Linked DNA regions of Homo sapiens: all the other regions are linked to region 5. The links are contacts of gene promoters, found by promoter capture Hi-C in blood cells and fetal thymus (Javierre and others, 2016). All regions are on one chromosome and are shown on one strand. The core of a region is centred on a gene start or on the middle of the fragment in contact, and the rest is flanking DNA. Distances in the headings are between cores, read along the strand shown.

The links. Contacts are between HindIII fragments. The CHiCAGO score rates a contact against its expected background, and 5 or more counts as called.
Region 1: a contact is called between a fragment that was not itself captured here and the fragment with the promoter of NEK10 in region 5, in 8 of 17 cell types (monocytes, endothelial precursors, activated CD4 T cells and 5 more). The highest score is 7.6, in monocytes.
Region 2: a fragment that was not itself captured here is called in contact with the fragment with the promoter of NEK10 in region 5 in 3 of 17 cell types (monocytes, neutrophils and M0 macrophages); the score reaches 7.1 in monocytes.
Region 3: a contact is called between a fragment that was not itself captured here and the fragment with the promoter of NEK10 in region 5, in 1 of 17 cell types (monocytes). The highest score is 8.8, in monocytes.
Region 4: a contact is called between a fragment that was not itself captured here and the fragment with the promoter of NEK10 in region 5, in 4 of 17 cell types (monocytes, endothelial precursors, M0 macrophages and 1 more). The highest score is 8.9, in monocytes.

Annotation. Positions count from the first base shown.
Region 1 is chr3:27,613,237-27,615,936 of GRCh38, reverse strand. No RefSeq gene overlaps it. Among named protein-coding and RNA genes, the nearest start is that of LINC02084, 98 kb to the left of the region's middle. The HindIII fragment of the contact is 5,969 bases long and covers 1-2,700 here.
Region 2 is chr3:27,559,117-27,561,816 of GRCh38, reverse strand. No RefSeq gene overlaps it. Among named protein-coding and RNA genes, the nearest start is that of SLC4A7, 76 kb to the right of the region's middle. The HindIII fragment of the contact is 4,557 bases long and covers 1-2,700 here.
Region 3 is chr3:27,539,467-27,542,166 of GRCh38, reverse strand. No RefSeq gene overlaps it. Among named protein-coding and RNA genes, the nearest start is that of SLC4A7, 56 kb to the right of the region's middle. The HindIII fragment of the contact is 9,245 bases long and covers 1-2,700 here.
Region 4 is chr3:27,520,275-27,522,974 of GRCh38, reverse strand. No RefSeq gene overlaps it. Among named protein-coding and RNA genes, the nearest start is that of SLC4A7, 37 kb to the right of the region's middle. The HindIII fragment of the contact is 1,216 bases long and covers 705-1,920 here.
Region 5 is chr3:27,367,993-27,370,692 of GRCh38, reverse strand. It overlaps NEK10 (NIMA related kinase 10), which reads left to right and starts at 1,310. Exons shown (of 36, transcript NM_001394966.1): 1 at 1,310-1,468. RefSeq lists an enhancer at 1,552-2,052. The HindIII fragment of the contact is 2,054 bases long and covers 1,103-2,700 here.

The DNA.
Region 1 (2,700 bases), core at 175-2,674, 250 kb before region 5:
TATAAAAATAGAGCCAAAGTATTTCCTCCTGGATTAAGTAATTAGAGAAAGGAAAGGTATGAACTTTATATTCTCTTCAAAGTGGCTGCACAATGTGCATTGGTGTTTGGCAGCAGTTGAGGTTCATTTGGCATTTGATTTCACAACTTTTGGCCCTGGGGACAATAGACTATGACCTTCTATGACATAATTGATGGGATAACAATAAAATTTTATTTAATATGTTGATTAAATGTTCCAGATTAAACACATATTACTTTTTATATGTTACTGATTACTTTTTATAATCAGATAAACAACAATAAGTATGATAAAGCATTGATGCTGGTAACTACAGACAGTGGAGAGCCAGGTTTCTCAATCTTGGCGTTATTGACATTTTAAGCTAGGCAATTCTTTATTGTCTGTCCTGTGAATTGTATAATGTTTAGCAGCATCTCTTGCTGATAGTGACAGGAGGCAGCCAAATGCACAGGGACAGGCCTCCAGTGAAACCCCATCTTCAAGCCAAAAACAGCCTGAAGGCTGAAAGACCAGACTGCTGGTCCCAGATGAAACCTGCAACTCACAGTGAGAACTTCTGTTCCCGTTTGCTCACCCTTTCCGATTGATTCTTTTCTTATTTTGAGACAAAGTTTCACTCTTGTTGCCTAGGCTAGAGTGCATAGCACAATCTTGGCTCACCACAACCTCTGCCTCCCAGGTTCAAGTTATTCTTCTGCCTCGGGTTACCGAGTAGCTGGGATTATAGGCATGCACCACCACGCATGGCTAATTTTGTATTTTTAGTAGAGATGGAGTTTCACCATGTTGGTCAAGCTAGTCTTGAACTCCTGACTTCAGGTGATCCGCTCACCTCAGCCTCCCGAAGTGCTGGGATTTCAGGTGTGAGCCACTGTGCCCAGCCCCAGTTGATTCTTTCTGAATAATGCCTTGTAGCCAATCAAATGTTGCCTTTTCCAACACTACCTATGGCCTGCCCCTCCCCCATTCTGAGCCCATAGAAGCCCTGGACTCAGTCATATTAGGGGGACTTTCCCACCTTCAGGTAGGGGGACCACCTCGGTGTCTCTGCTCTGCTGAAAGCTATTTCCTCACTCAATAAACTCCCCGCCTTGCTCACTCTTTGATTGTCAGTTCATCCTCATTCTTCTTGGGCATGGGACAAGAGCTCAGGAATTAATGCATAAGCCAGACTCAGCCTGGGTGGGCTGAGTGGGTGAGCCGTCTCCTGTAGCAGGAAGGAGGTAATATGATCAGGCAAGGCCCGGGTGGGGCATCACTGGCCAGAGGTCCCCATTTTGCAAAGTGACCAAGAAGAAAATCTTGCCTTATTTCCTCCACTCACTAGATACCAGTAGCAGTACCCCTCAACCCTGCATAAATTGTGGTAATCAAAAGTATCTCCAGATATTGCCAAATGTCCTCTGGGAAGCAAAATTGCCCTGATTGAGTAGCATTGCTTAGAGAGGACAGTAACAATGAAGGGACATCTGATGATGTGCTTTCTGGGCTCTTCCCCACCTTCTCCTTCTCTGACAACCTCCCTTCTTGGTTTCTGTTTGCTGGTATTTCAGAGCTTGACCAGTTTTAGTTCCTTATAGTTTTCAAATTTTTCTGGCAATCTCTCACCTACCATTATCTCCCACATGTTCACCCTATTTTCAGTTCTCATATTTTTGTCCATTGACACCATTTCTGAACTTTGGTTGTTCCCATTACCTTCACATCTGTACTGTGAGCCTTTCTTGCAAACACTAGATATGAAGAGGACACACTGCAAGTAGGTAGAAAAGAGGCTGTATTAACACATCTGCACATTTTCAGCACTTCTTTTTAGCAAGTTTATTTCACCCTCATGATAACAAAATATGGGAAAAATGAAGTAGAGGAATTTAGAGTGACTCATTTTGACATGTCAGAGAGAACTGGTAATGGAAAAATAATCCAGGTTTCCGAGGATCTAGTGACAGGACTTTTCATTTTGAAAAATACGATCATCCTACTCAAAGAAGTTTTAATAAGTCTGATCAAAATATTGATGTACACAATCACACAAGCCTGTTCTTGTATTTTTTTTCAAAGTTCAGGCCAAGTACAGCAAACAAATTTGGCCCGTTGTACCACCATGATGGGTTGTCTCTTTACACTGTCATTTTCTATCAAGTTTCTAGGGTTGGACTTTACAAAATAGGCCAAGCAAATTCCTATGCTGCCAAAACCTCAAGCAAAGTTTCTGAGGGTGTCTCAAGGACTTCTGGGTTCCATTTAAAACCTTCCCTCAAAAATTAGTTTCTTCCTTGTGGCATATGAGAAAAATTAACCTCTCAGATTTGAAGCTGATGCTTAATACTTGCCACCATCCATGAACAGTCAAACTCAACAGCTGTTCAAAGGTGGCTTGAATGAACCCAGTGGGTCCATTCAAAACCCTGTTATGCGACTCTACTGCACATCTCTGTTGGTCAAAAGCCCCTTCATCCTTCAAAGTCTAATGCCTTACATGAAGATCTCCTCTCTTTCAGAGCCCATACCACAATGGTCATTTTTTTTTTTTTTTTTTTTTTTTTTGAGATGAGTCTTGCTCTGTCGCCCAGGCTGGAGTGGTGTGGCACAATCTCAGGTCACTGCAAGCTCCACCTCCCAGGTTCATGCCATTCTCCTGCCTCAGCCTCCCAAGTAGCTGGGAATACAGGCGCC
Region 2 (2,700 bases), core at 152-2,651, 190 kb before region 5:
CGCTTGTAGTCCCAGCTACTCAAGAGGCTGAAGTGGGAGGATTGCTTAAGCTCAGGAGTGTGAGGCTGTGATGAGCCATGATCATGCCACTGTACTCCAGCCTGGATGACAAAGCGAGATGCTGTCTCAAAAATAAATAAAGCCATTCCTTCTTTTTGTATTGCCTTTCTCTCAAATTTCTGGCTGTCAAAATATTACCTGTCTTTAGGACTCAGCTCAAATTAGGGGCAGTACAGCATAGTCTTTTCTTTTTTTTTTTTTTTGAGACGGAGTGTCTCACTCTGTCATCAGGCTGGAGTGCAATTCTCACTGCAACCTCCGCCTCCTGGGTTCAACTGATTCTCGTACCTCAGCCTCCTGAATATGTGGGACTACAGGCACGCACCACAACATCCGGCTAATTTTCATATTTTTAGTAGAGACGGGGTTTCACCATGTTGGCCATGATGGTCTCGATCTCCTGACCTGGTGATCCATCTACCTCGGCCTCCCAAAGCGCTGGGATTACAGGCGTGAGCCTCCGTGCTCGGCCTTTTTTTTTTTTTTTTTTTTTTTTGAGACAGAGTCTTGCTCTGTCACCCAGGCTGGAGTGCAGTGGCCCAATCTCAGCTCACTGCAAGCTCCGCCTCCCAGGTTCACGCCATTCTCCTGCCTCAGCCTCCTGAATAGCTGGGACTACAGGCGCCTGCCACCACGCCCGGCTAATTTTTTGTGTTTTTGGTAGAGATGGTGTTTCACCATGTTAGCGAGGATGGTCTCGATCTCCTGACCTCGTGATCCGCCCGCCTCCCCTCGGCCTCCCAAAGTGCTGGGATTACAGGCAGGAGCCACCGTGCCCGGCCCTTTTTTTTTTTTTTTTTTTTTTTCTCTAATTAGCCCTAGTACTCTAGAAAACAGAGCCCAAGGCAGGGATTAAAGTGCTAATGCTTCCTTTGAGAAGTGCAAACCCACAGCAGCTGGGATGGGGAAAAGGGGAAGTGGGGCAAGAAAAGATGTGGAGCAATATAAAGTAATGTTTTACTCTGTTGTACAATATAAAGTAATATATTGCACAATATAAAGTAATATATAAAGTGCAATATAAAGTGCAATAATATAATGTATATATTATATATTAATATATATTAATGTTATATAATTATAATATTATAATACTATATTAAGGTAATATATAAAGTGCAATAATAATATAAAATTGCAATATAAAGTAATGTTTTACTCTGTTGTGCGGGTGCGTGCTCAGCACACAGAACTTCTCTCACATTGAGGTTGTCCGTGGAAGAGAGGAAGGTAGACGAAACCCTGTCTCCCGCTTCCAGTTGGCCAAAGTGTGTTTTTTGTTGTTGCGGTTTTGTTTTGTTTTATTTGAGACAGAGTCTCACCTTGTCACCCAGGCTGGAGTGTAATGGCGCGATCTCGGATCACTGCAACCTCTGCCTCCCAGAGTTCAAACAATTCTCCTGCCTCAGCCTCCGGAGTAGCTGGGATTACAGGCGCCCACCACTACGCCCAGCTAATTTTTGTATTTTTAGTAGAGCCACGTTGGCCAGTCTGGTCTGGAACTTCTGACCTCAGGTGATCCGCCCACCTTGGCCTCCCAAAGTGCTGGAATAACAGGCATGAGCCACTGCACACGGCCCTAATTGGCGAAAGTTTGCTCTGCAGGCAGAAACTACCTTGCATTCCTGCTTGCATCATTCTTTCCTTTTGCCTATCTGATCCTATGCCCTGCAGCACAGCATTTCATCCAAATCCGGAAGCAGTGGGAGAAGCCAGACATTCTGGAAGAGCGTCTGCTTGATCCAGCTGCAGAGCACTAGCCAAGGGGGAGGGCCTAGTTTGTCCTCAGCTGCGGTATGATTGAGGAGGTGGACCATGCCAGAGGATATGAGAAGTCACAAAGCATCTGTGTCCGTGCAGCATCTAAGAGAGTGGGTTCTAAAGAACATAGGAAAAGACCATTTCCTACCACTCACCAGCTGCGTGACCTGGGTAAAACACTTTATGCCAATGTTTTTTCTTTTTTCTTTTACCTTCTTATTTTTAAATAATTCTAAACTTACAGGAAGTAGCAAAAATAGTACAAAATTTCCACTATACCCATCACTCACTGCTATGGACTGAATGGTGTCTCCCCACAATTCATATGTTAAAGCCCCAACCCTCAGTGTGATGGTATTTAGCCTGGTGCCTTTAGGAGGTGATTTGGTTTAGATGAGGTCATGAGAGTTGGGTCTCATAATGGAATTAGTGCCCTTAGAAGAAGAGGCACCAGAGAACTTGCTACCCCCCTGCCATGTGAGAACACAGTAAGAAGACAGCCATCTGTAAGCCAGGAAGAGAGTTCTTATTAGAACCTGATCATGCTGTACCTTGATCTTGGACCTCCATCCTCCAGAACTATAAAAAAAATAGACTTCTGTTGTGTAAGCCACCTAGTCCGTGGTATTCTGTTATAGCAGCCCAACCTGCCATATGTCACCAATTGTTAACATTTTGCTGCATTTGTTTTATCATTCTTTCCTTCTCTCTCTCTCTCTCCATACACATGAATGCACACACATCTAATTATTACAGTTTTCTGAAGTATTTGAGAGGAAATTTATGACATCATGCCCCTTTATTCCTAAATACTTCAGAGTAAATTTCCTATTAACAAGGACATTCGGCTGGGTAAGGTGGCTCACGCCTGTAATGCCA
Region 3 (2,700 bases), core at 46-2,545, 170 kb before region 5:
TTTCTAAAAATCCAAGATAATTCTGAATTCTGACATCTGGCCCCAGGGTTTTAGATAAAGCCTTGTTGTCCTATAAGAGCAGAGATAACTGTACAAAAGAAGGACATTGGTTCAGTTGATATTATTTCTGAACTGTTACTCTTTAGCATATGAAAATAATATTTTTCTAAATCAATAGGTTTCAATATATGATCTCAGGACACTGGAAATTTCTAAGCTATCTTATGTGGTCTGTACTTTTATTGCTATATGTAAAAAATTATGTATGCTTTATAGTGACAGCAAGAGATTATTGATAGCTCATAAAAACCAAGCCAATTTGTTCTTCCCACTAACTCACCTCTTTCTCTTTCTCCTCCCCTACTTTTTTCTTTCTCTCTCTTTGTGGTATGTGTTGGCAAGTAGGGAAAATAGGAACAGGGTCGGCTTCATGGATATGTGATCAGTGCAGCTACACAAGATCCTGCACTTTCTCTGGAGTCAGGGTTCTCCAGAGAAACAGAAACAGTAAGATGTAGGGGTGTGTGTGTATGTGTGTGTGTGTGTATGTGTGTGTGTATGTGTGTGTGTGTGTGTGCACGCACATGCACTCGCATATGTGTGTATAAAGAGATTTATTATAAGGAATTGGCTCCTGCTATTATGGAGGCTGTCAAGTCTCAAGATCTGCAAAGTGAGTTGGCAAGCTGTAGACTCACTCAGGAGAGCTGATGGTGTGGTTCTAGTATGATGGCCAGCAGGCTCAAGACCCAGGAAGAGAATGTTTCAGTTTAAATCTTTGTTTGTTTGTTTGTTTGTTTTTTGAGACAGAGTCTCACTCTGTCACCCAGGCTGGAGTACAGTGGTGTGGTCTCGGCTCACTGCAACCTCTGCCTCTCAGGTTCAAGCGATTCTCCTGCCTCAGCCTCCCGAGTAGCTGGGATTACAGGTGTGCCCCACCATGCCTGGCTAATTTTTTTACATTTTTAGTAGAGATGGGGTTTCACCATGTTGGTCAGGCTGATCTCGAACTCCTGACCTCGTGATCCGCCCACCTCGGCTTCCCAAAGCACTGGGATTATAGGCGTGAGCCACCACGCCCGGCCAGTTTAAATCTTAAGTCAGGGAAAACCTCTCTCTCATTTGGGAAGGGTCAGCCCTTTGTTCTGGCCTTCAGCTGACTGAATGAGGCCCCCCACATTAGGGAGGGCAAACTGCTTTGCTTAGTGTACAGATTGAAATGTTAATCTCTTTCAAAACACTCTCACAGAAACAGCCAGAATGATGTTTAACCAAATTTGTGGAGTCCCACAAATTATGTAGCTGGCACTGGATAGGGAGAATACTCAAGAAAATCTTTTTTTTTTTCTTTTTTTTTTTTAGACGGAGTTTCGCTCTTGTTGCCCAGGCTGGAGTGCAATAGCATGATCTTGGCTCAATGCAACCTCCGCCTCCCCGGTGCAAGCAATTCTCCTGCCTCAGCTTCCCAAGTAGCTGGGACTACAGGTGCTCGCCACCACGTCCAGCTAATTTTTGCATTTTTTAGTAGAGACGGGGTTCCACCATGTTGGTCAGGCTGGTCTCGAACTCCTAACCTCAGGTGGCCACCCGGCTCAGCCTCTCAAAGTGCTGGGATTACAGGCGTGAGACACGGCGCCTGGCCCTCAGTGAAATCTTTAGCTTCTTACACACAGACGCAGACACACACACACACTCTCACACACACACCACAGAGTTATTTTTCATCATCGTTGTTCCTACTTTTGGTACTGGTGGATGCAAATGATGAAATTCAAGAATCAGCCAATTCAACTGATATTTTAAACTTGAATCACAACTGACTTTTCCTTTTACCTCACTTCCCATTTCCAGACTGCATATAGTCTTATTAATGTTTGCTAATAGCTCTCTAATCCATCTTTTCTTCTTTTTTTAATTATTTTTTTTACAGTGGGGTGAGACAGGGACTCGCTATGTTGCCCAGGCTGGTCTCAAAGTCCTGAGCTCAAGCAACCCTCCAGCCTCTGCCTCCTAAAGTGCTGAGATTACAGGCCACAGTCACCCTTTCTTATTCATTTTCATTCCCACCAACCTAGTCCAGGAATAGTTTTCCTATTCTTCTCCTCATCCCTGTCTTCTTCCCCTCCATTACCCCTCATTCTCCCTTTTCCTCCTCCTCCTCATCTTCTTTCACTATTACCACTATCACTATCATTACAGGAAGAGTCATTATGCCTATATTATGTCAGACACTGTATTAGGTTTTTTGTTTGTTTGTTTGTTTTTGAGACCGAGGCTCGCTCTGTCGCCCAGGCTGGAGTGCAGTGGCACGATCTCGGCTCACTGCAACCTCCACCTCCCGGGTTCAAGCAATTCTCCTGCCTCAGCTTCCCAAGTAGCTGGGACTACAGGTGCTCGCCACCATGTCCAGCTAATTTTTGCATTTTTTAGTAGAGACGGGGTTTCACTATATGTAGGGCAGGCTGGTCTCGAACCCCTGACCTCAAGTGATCCACCCGCCTCAGCCTCCCAAAGTGCTGGGATTACAGGTGTGAGCCACTGAGCCTGGCCAATATTGAGTTTTATTAGGGGTAACTTCCATAAACAGACGGCCCAGTGGCAGTGGGCTGGAAAGGAGAACCAAGACTGCTTGCAGAAAGCATGCAGTTTAGGTAACATTTTCACTTAGCATCCTCCCCATAGCAATCTCCACGTGGCAAC
Region 4 (2,700 bases), core at 63-2,562, 150 kb before region 5:
GGTGACAGAAAGAGACTCCATTCAAAAAAAAAAAAAAAAAAAAGCTATAGGAGACAGTGCATATAAATTATGATTAATGAGACAAATGCTATAAGAAATTTTTGAGCAAAGGGAGTAAAGAGTTAAGCTAGCTAACGTGCATGGGAAAGTTTTCAGAGAAGGAAATCATTTCATTTGAAACTTGAAGTGTTAGTAGAACAAGCCTGGTTTAGAAAGCGGTCAAGTGCATTCCTGGAAGAGGTGCTATAGCACATCAGTAGGATTCAACCAGATCTGATTTCCTTTTTTTTTTTCTTTTGAGACGGAGTTTTGCTCTTGTTGCCCAGGCTGGAGTGCAATGGCACGATCTCGGCTCACTGCAACCTCTGCCTCCCGGGTTCAAGTGATTCTCCTGCTTCAGCCTCCCGAGTAGCTGGGATTACAGACATGCACCACCACACCAGGCTATTTTTGTATTTTCAGTAGACGTGGGATTTCTCCATGTTGGTCAAGCTGGTCTCGAACTCTCGACCTCAGGTGATCCGCCCGCCTCAGCTTCCCAAAGTGCCGGGGTTATAGGCATGAGCCACTGCGCCTGGCCCAGATCTGATTTCTAAGGTGAGCAAAATATAAATTAATTGAATTTTATGAGCTGAGTATTTGTATTTATTGAGCCAATCTTGGAGTCAGACTCCTCTCTCTCTCACATATAACATACCCAAGCTTTTGGCAAATCTATCAACTCTGTGTTCAAAACATATCCCAAATCCAACCATTTCTCCCCATCTTCATGGCTACTAGCCTGGTTCAAGTCACCATCAATTCTCACCTGACTACTACAGAAACATCCTAATTGGTTGTGTTGGTTCTCCGTTGCTGTGTAACAAATTGCCACACACTTAATAGCTTAAAACCACACACATTTATTATCTCACTGTTCCCGTGGGTCAGGAGTCTGAAAATGGCTTAACCAGATACTCAGCTTACAGCCTCCACAATCTGTAATCAAGATGTAGGCTTGCTATATTCTCATCTGAGGGATTGACTAGGGAAGAATTTAACTCCAAGCTCATTCAAATTGTTGGTAAAGTCAACTCTTTGTGGTTGTGTAACTGGAGACCCAGCTTCTCACTGGCTCTTGGCTGGGAGCTATCTGTAGGTCCTAGAAGTGTCTCATAGTTCCCTGCAAGTGGCCCTCTCCACAGCAGTTCACACCATGGTGGTTTGCTTCTTCAGCAGAATCACTCACACTCTGGTCGGCTAAGATGAAGTCTTATGTAATGTAACATATTCATGAGAATGACATCCATCATCTTTGCCATATTCTGTTCATTGGAAGCAAGTCACAGGTTCTGTCAGCACTTAAGGGAGAATATTACACAAGGCATGACTCATTGGAGGTCAACTAAGGCTGTGTCAACCAAATCGGTCTCCCAACTTCCACGCATGCTCTCCTACTGTTTATCTTCTATACAAAACCCAGAGTGATGTTTTTAAAGTGTAAAACGTAACAATGCCGTTCCCTTGCTCACAACCTTCTAATGGCTTAAAATCTAAAAGGCCTATAAAATCATATATATGTGATCACTGGCTACCTCACTTGCAGTCCCTCTGCTTATTCCTACCCAGTCCCATGGGAATCCTTGCTGTTCTGGAAATAGGCCAAGCACATGTCTGTCTTTGCACTTACTATTTTCTCTGCTTCAAACACTCTATTCCAGTAAATCTTTAAGACTTGAACCCTCTCTTCATTTAGGTGTCTGCTCAAATGTCACTTCTTCAGAAACTACTACTTTTAACCCTCCAATCTAAGATAGCCCTTCCAGGATGATCCACACCTGTCCTTTGCCTCATTTTCTTTCTGTCCTTTGTCTTTCTGTGTATTTTAGAATATACTTATTCACTTATTTATTAACTGTCTCTCCCACTGGAACTCAAGCTTCTTGAGGACAGGGACCCAGTCTGTCTTATTCACTGTAATTTTCCCAGTGCCTATAAAATTGCCTGGCATATAGAAGACACTTATTTTTTTGAGATGGAGTTTCGCTCTTGTTGCCCAGGCTAGAGTGCAATGGCGCAATCTCGGCTCACTGCAAGCCCACCTCCCGGGTTCAAGCGATTCTCCTGCCTCAGCCTCCCAAGTAGCTGGGATTACAGGAATGCACCACCACGCCTGGCTAATTTTTTTTTTTGTATTTTTGGTAGAGACAGGGTTTCTCCATGTTGGTCAGGCTGGTCTCGAACTCCTGCACTCCAGTGATCCGCCCGCCTCGGCCTCCCAAAGTGCTGGGATTACAGGCGTGAGCCATGGGGCCTGGCCCTTTTCCCTTTTTTTTTTTTTTTTTTTTGAGCTGGAGTCTCACTTTGTTGCTCAGGCTGGAGTACAGTGGAACGATCTTGGCTTACTGCAACCTCTGCCTCCTGAGTTCAAGCGATTCTCTCACCTCAGCCTCCTAAGTAGCTGGGATTACAGGCAACCACCACCACACTCAGCTAATTTTTGTATTTTTAGTAGAGATGGGGATTTACCATGTTGGTCAGGCTGGTCTCAAACCCCTGACCTCAAGTGATCCACCCACCTTGGTATCCCAAAGTGCTGGAATTACAGGTATGAGCCACCACGCCTGGCCTAGAAGACACGTAATTTCTTGTGATAATAAATAATGAAAAGATTGAGACACAAAACTTTTAAAAATATTTTATTGTCACTGATGATATGTT
Region 5 (2,700 bases), core at 61-2,560:
GCCGACTGCTTAACATTTAGAATGTATGTACAGAATACTTTTTCTACTCAGCATCGGTCTTCCTGCCCCGTCACCTTGTTTTGTTTTATTGGTAACATTAATCCTGATTGTTTTAGATCTCTGAAGTTTAATTAGTTCTGCTATACTCACCAGAGTTTGGCTTTCATCTCGCCTTTCTGCATTTCCAAAATAGGACCGTCTTCATTTTAAAAAATGCTTTCAATTACCCAAGCTTAAGTATTGTTAATCCAATGGGCCTACTTACTATCCACACCAGAAAAACGTTAGGGTTCACTGTATTCATTTAAAATCCAGTTTGGGAAGATGTAACCACCAGACACACACACGAGCGTTTAGTGATACCAAGATGAGGTTGAACAGGGCCCAGTACTCGAAGAAATCGTCGAAGGAGCATCATCGTGGTTAAGACCAGACTCGAAGTAGGTTTTACCCTGACTCCATCACTAGCTCTGCCATACTGGACTACTTAGGAAACTTCTTGTGCCTCCATTTTATAACTAAGTGAAATAAGGAAAGAATTTGAAATCGTGCCCGGCACAAAATTAAGCACTTAATAGATTGGCATTTTTCATTTATTTAAAGTTACAGAATGTCAGGTATATTTTTAAAGCGTTATCTAATGCAGTTCAGAAATTTTAAAGAAGCTCCAGACTTTCACAAAAGGTGAAGTGACTTGCCCAAAGCCACAAAACGAACTGGCGATAGTTATACTATACAGGTTTCTTGAATCCCAGGTCACTCTTTTTGTGAAAAATACGGTGCTGTGGCACCTTATTCTCATTGCCTGTGGCTTGAGTAACTGAAGACGTTTTCATGCCATATGAAAGGTATTTAGCATGCTGCATTGATTCCTTATCAGATTAAATCTTTGCTTTTAAAGAGAATTGATTTTTAGCCCATAGCAATTCTTGAAAGTAAACACTCCAAGATGAAGCTGCCCTTTCCCATCAAAGGTTAGACACCCTAAATCCAGAAAAATCTTCAACGTGTAGGAGACCTGTTCACAGGTAGCTCTAGGTTCCGGTGAAGTGGCTGCAGCACAGCCTTCAGCATCACTTGCTGCCTCTTCTGCTTGCAAGCTTGGTGGTGGATCTAGCGCGTCTCTGGTTGCTACGGCGATTCCCCGGCAGGCGTCATCCGTCGCTATGGCGTTCTGCACTGCGCAGCATGGCTGCTCCCGATTGGCTGAGGCGCCCCAGGTGGCGGAGGAAGAATTGTCGGCATTGGCCTGGCCAGCGCTGGTTGGTGGCCTGGAGGAGGATTTGATTGGAAAACCAACGGTGCAGCTGGCCGCGGTGTCCCTGAGGTTGAGGGGACCGGGAATAGGCTGGGGGGAGGACGGGACGGGCTGAGACTGGACGGGACCCCCGGTCTGCAGCAGCAGGTGACAGCAGCAGGGACAATGATAAGGAGATTGGCCTGAAGGAGGGACCGTCCCTCCCGCGCGGTGAGTAGGCGGGAGCCGGTGCTCGGCTGTGCCGGCGAGCAGCTTGAGTCAGGGTCTCCGGGGAGACGTCCTCAGGTCCCTGTGGAGCGGCCCCGAAGCCTCGGGAGCCAGCTTCACTAGACAAGAGGCAGAGGTAGAGAATGCGGCTGTGGTGGGTAAGTGAGTCACTGCGTGAGGCAGTCTTTTCAAAGCAGGTGGGTTTGTGTTGGACGGATGGATGGTGGGAAAGCGCCATCAACGATGCTTCTTGGCGCTTCCATTTTGATAACGGAATTATTCTGGTTAAATGGAGCCTGAATGTGTCTCTTCCAATCTGCTCCGACGCCTCTGGAGGTTCATTCTTCATCTCTATGAGCGTCGCTTTTCTGCCTTCTCCTTACAGGATGCTGCTTTGACTTTGCCCCTCTGCTTTTCTGCCCTACTTCGGTGAGCCCTTCCACTTCCTCGCCTCAGGCACCATCTATCTGACGATGATTAGAAAGTCTCCAACTGGAACCTAGCCTGCTCTACTAACTGTCAGACCCCAAAATCCAGCTGCCAAGTTAACGCCACACATGTGCAACCCTGAACGCCATCTTCCCCATGTCTGCTGCTGCTCTTGGATTCCCTATTTTGGGCATCACTATCCATTCAGCTTTCAAAAACTACACTCTAGACGACATCCATGACACTTACTGCTGCTTCCTCTGCATCTCTATCAATTATCAAGACTATCCCTTCTTAATAGGTGTTGAATCAATTCCCACATTACCATCTCTATTTTTACTGTCTCAATTTCCACCATCGGTTGGTTAAATTCAACACCCATCTGGCTTCTCCGATTCTAGTCTGGCCCTATCTATCCAATCCACTTTTTTCCCCACCATTGTTGAACTGATATATATATATGTGTATATATATATATATGGAGTCCTTCTAAAAAAGACTCCTTTTTTAGAAGGAGTCTTGCTGTGCTGCCAGGCTGGAGTGCAGTGGAGCGATCTCAGCTCACTGCAGCCTCCGCCTTCCGGGTTCAACCAATTCTCATGCCTCAGCCTCCAGAGAGCTGGGATTACAGGCGCGAGCCACTACGCCTGGCTAATTTTTGTATTTTTAGTAGAGAAGGGGTTTCACCATGTTGGTCAGGCTGGTCTCGAACTCCTGATCTCAGGTGATCCACCCGCCTCAGCCTCCCAAAGTGCTGGAATTACAGGCGTGAGCCACCGTGCCCGGCTAAACTGATCTTTTTAAAA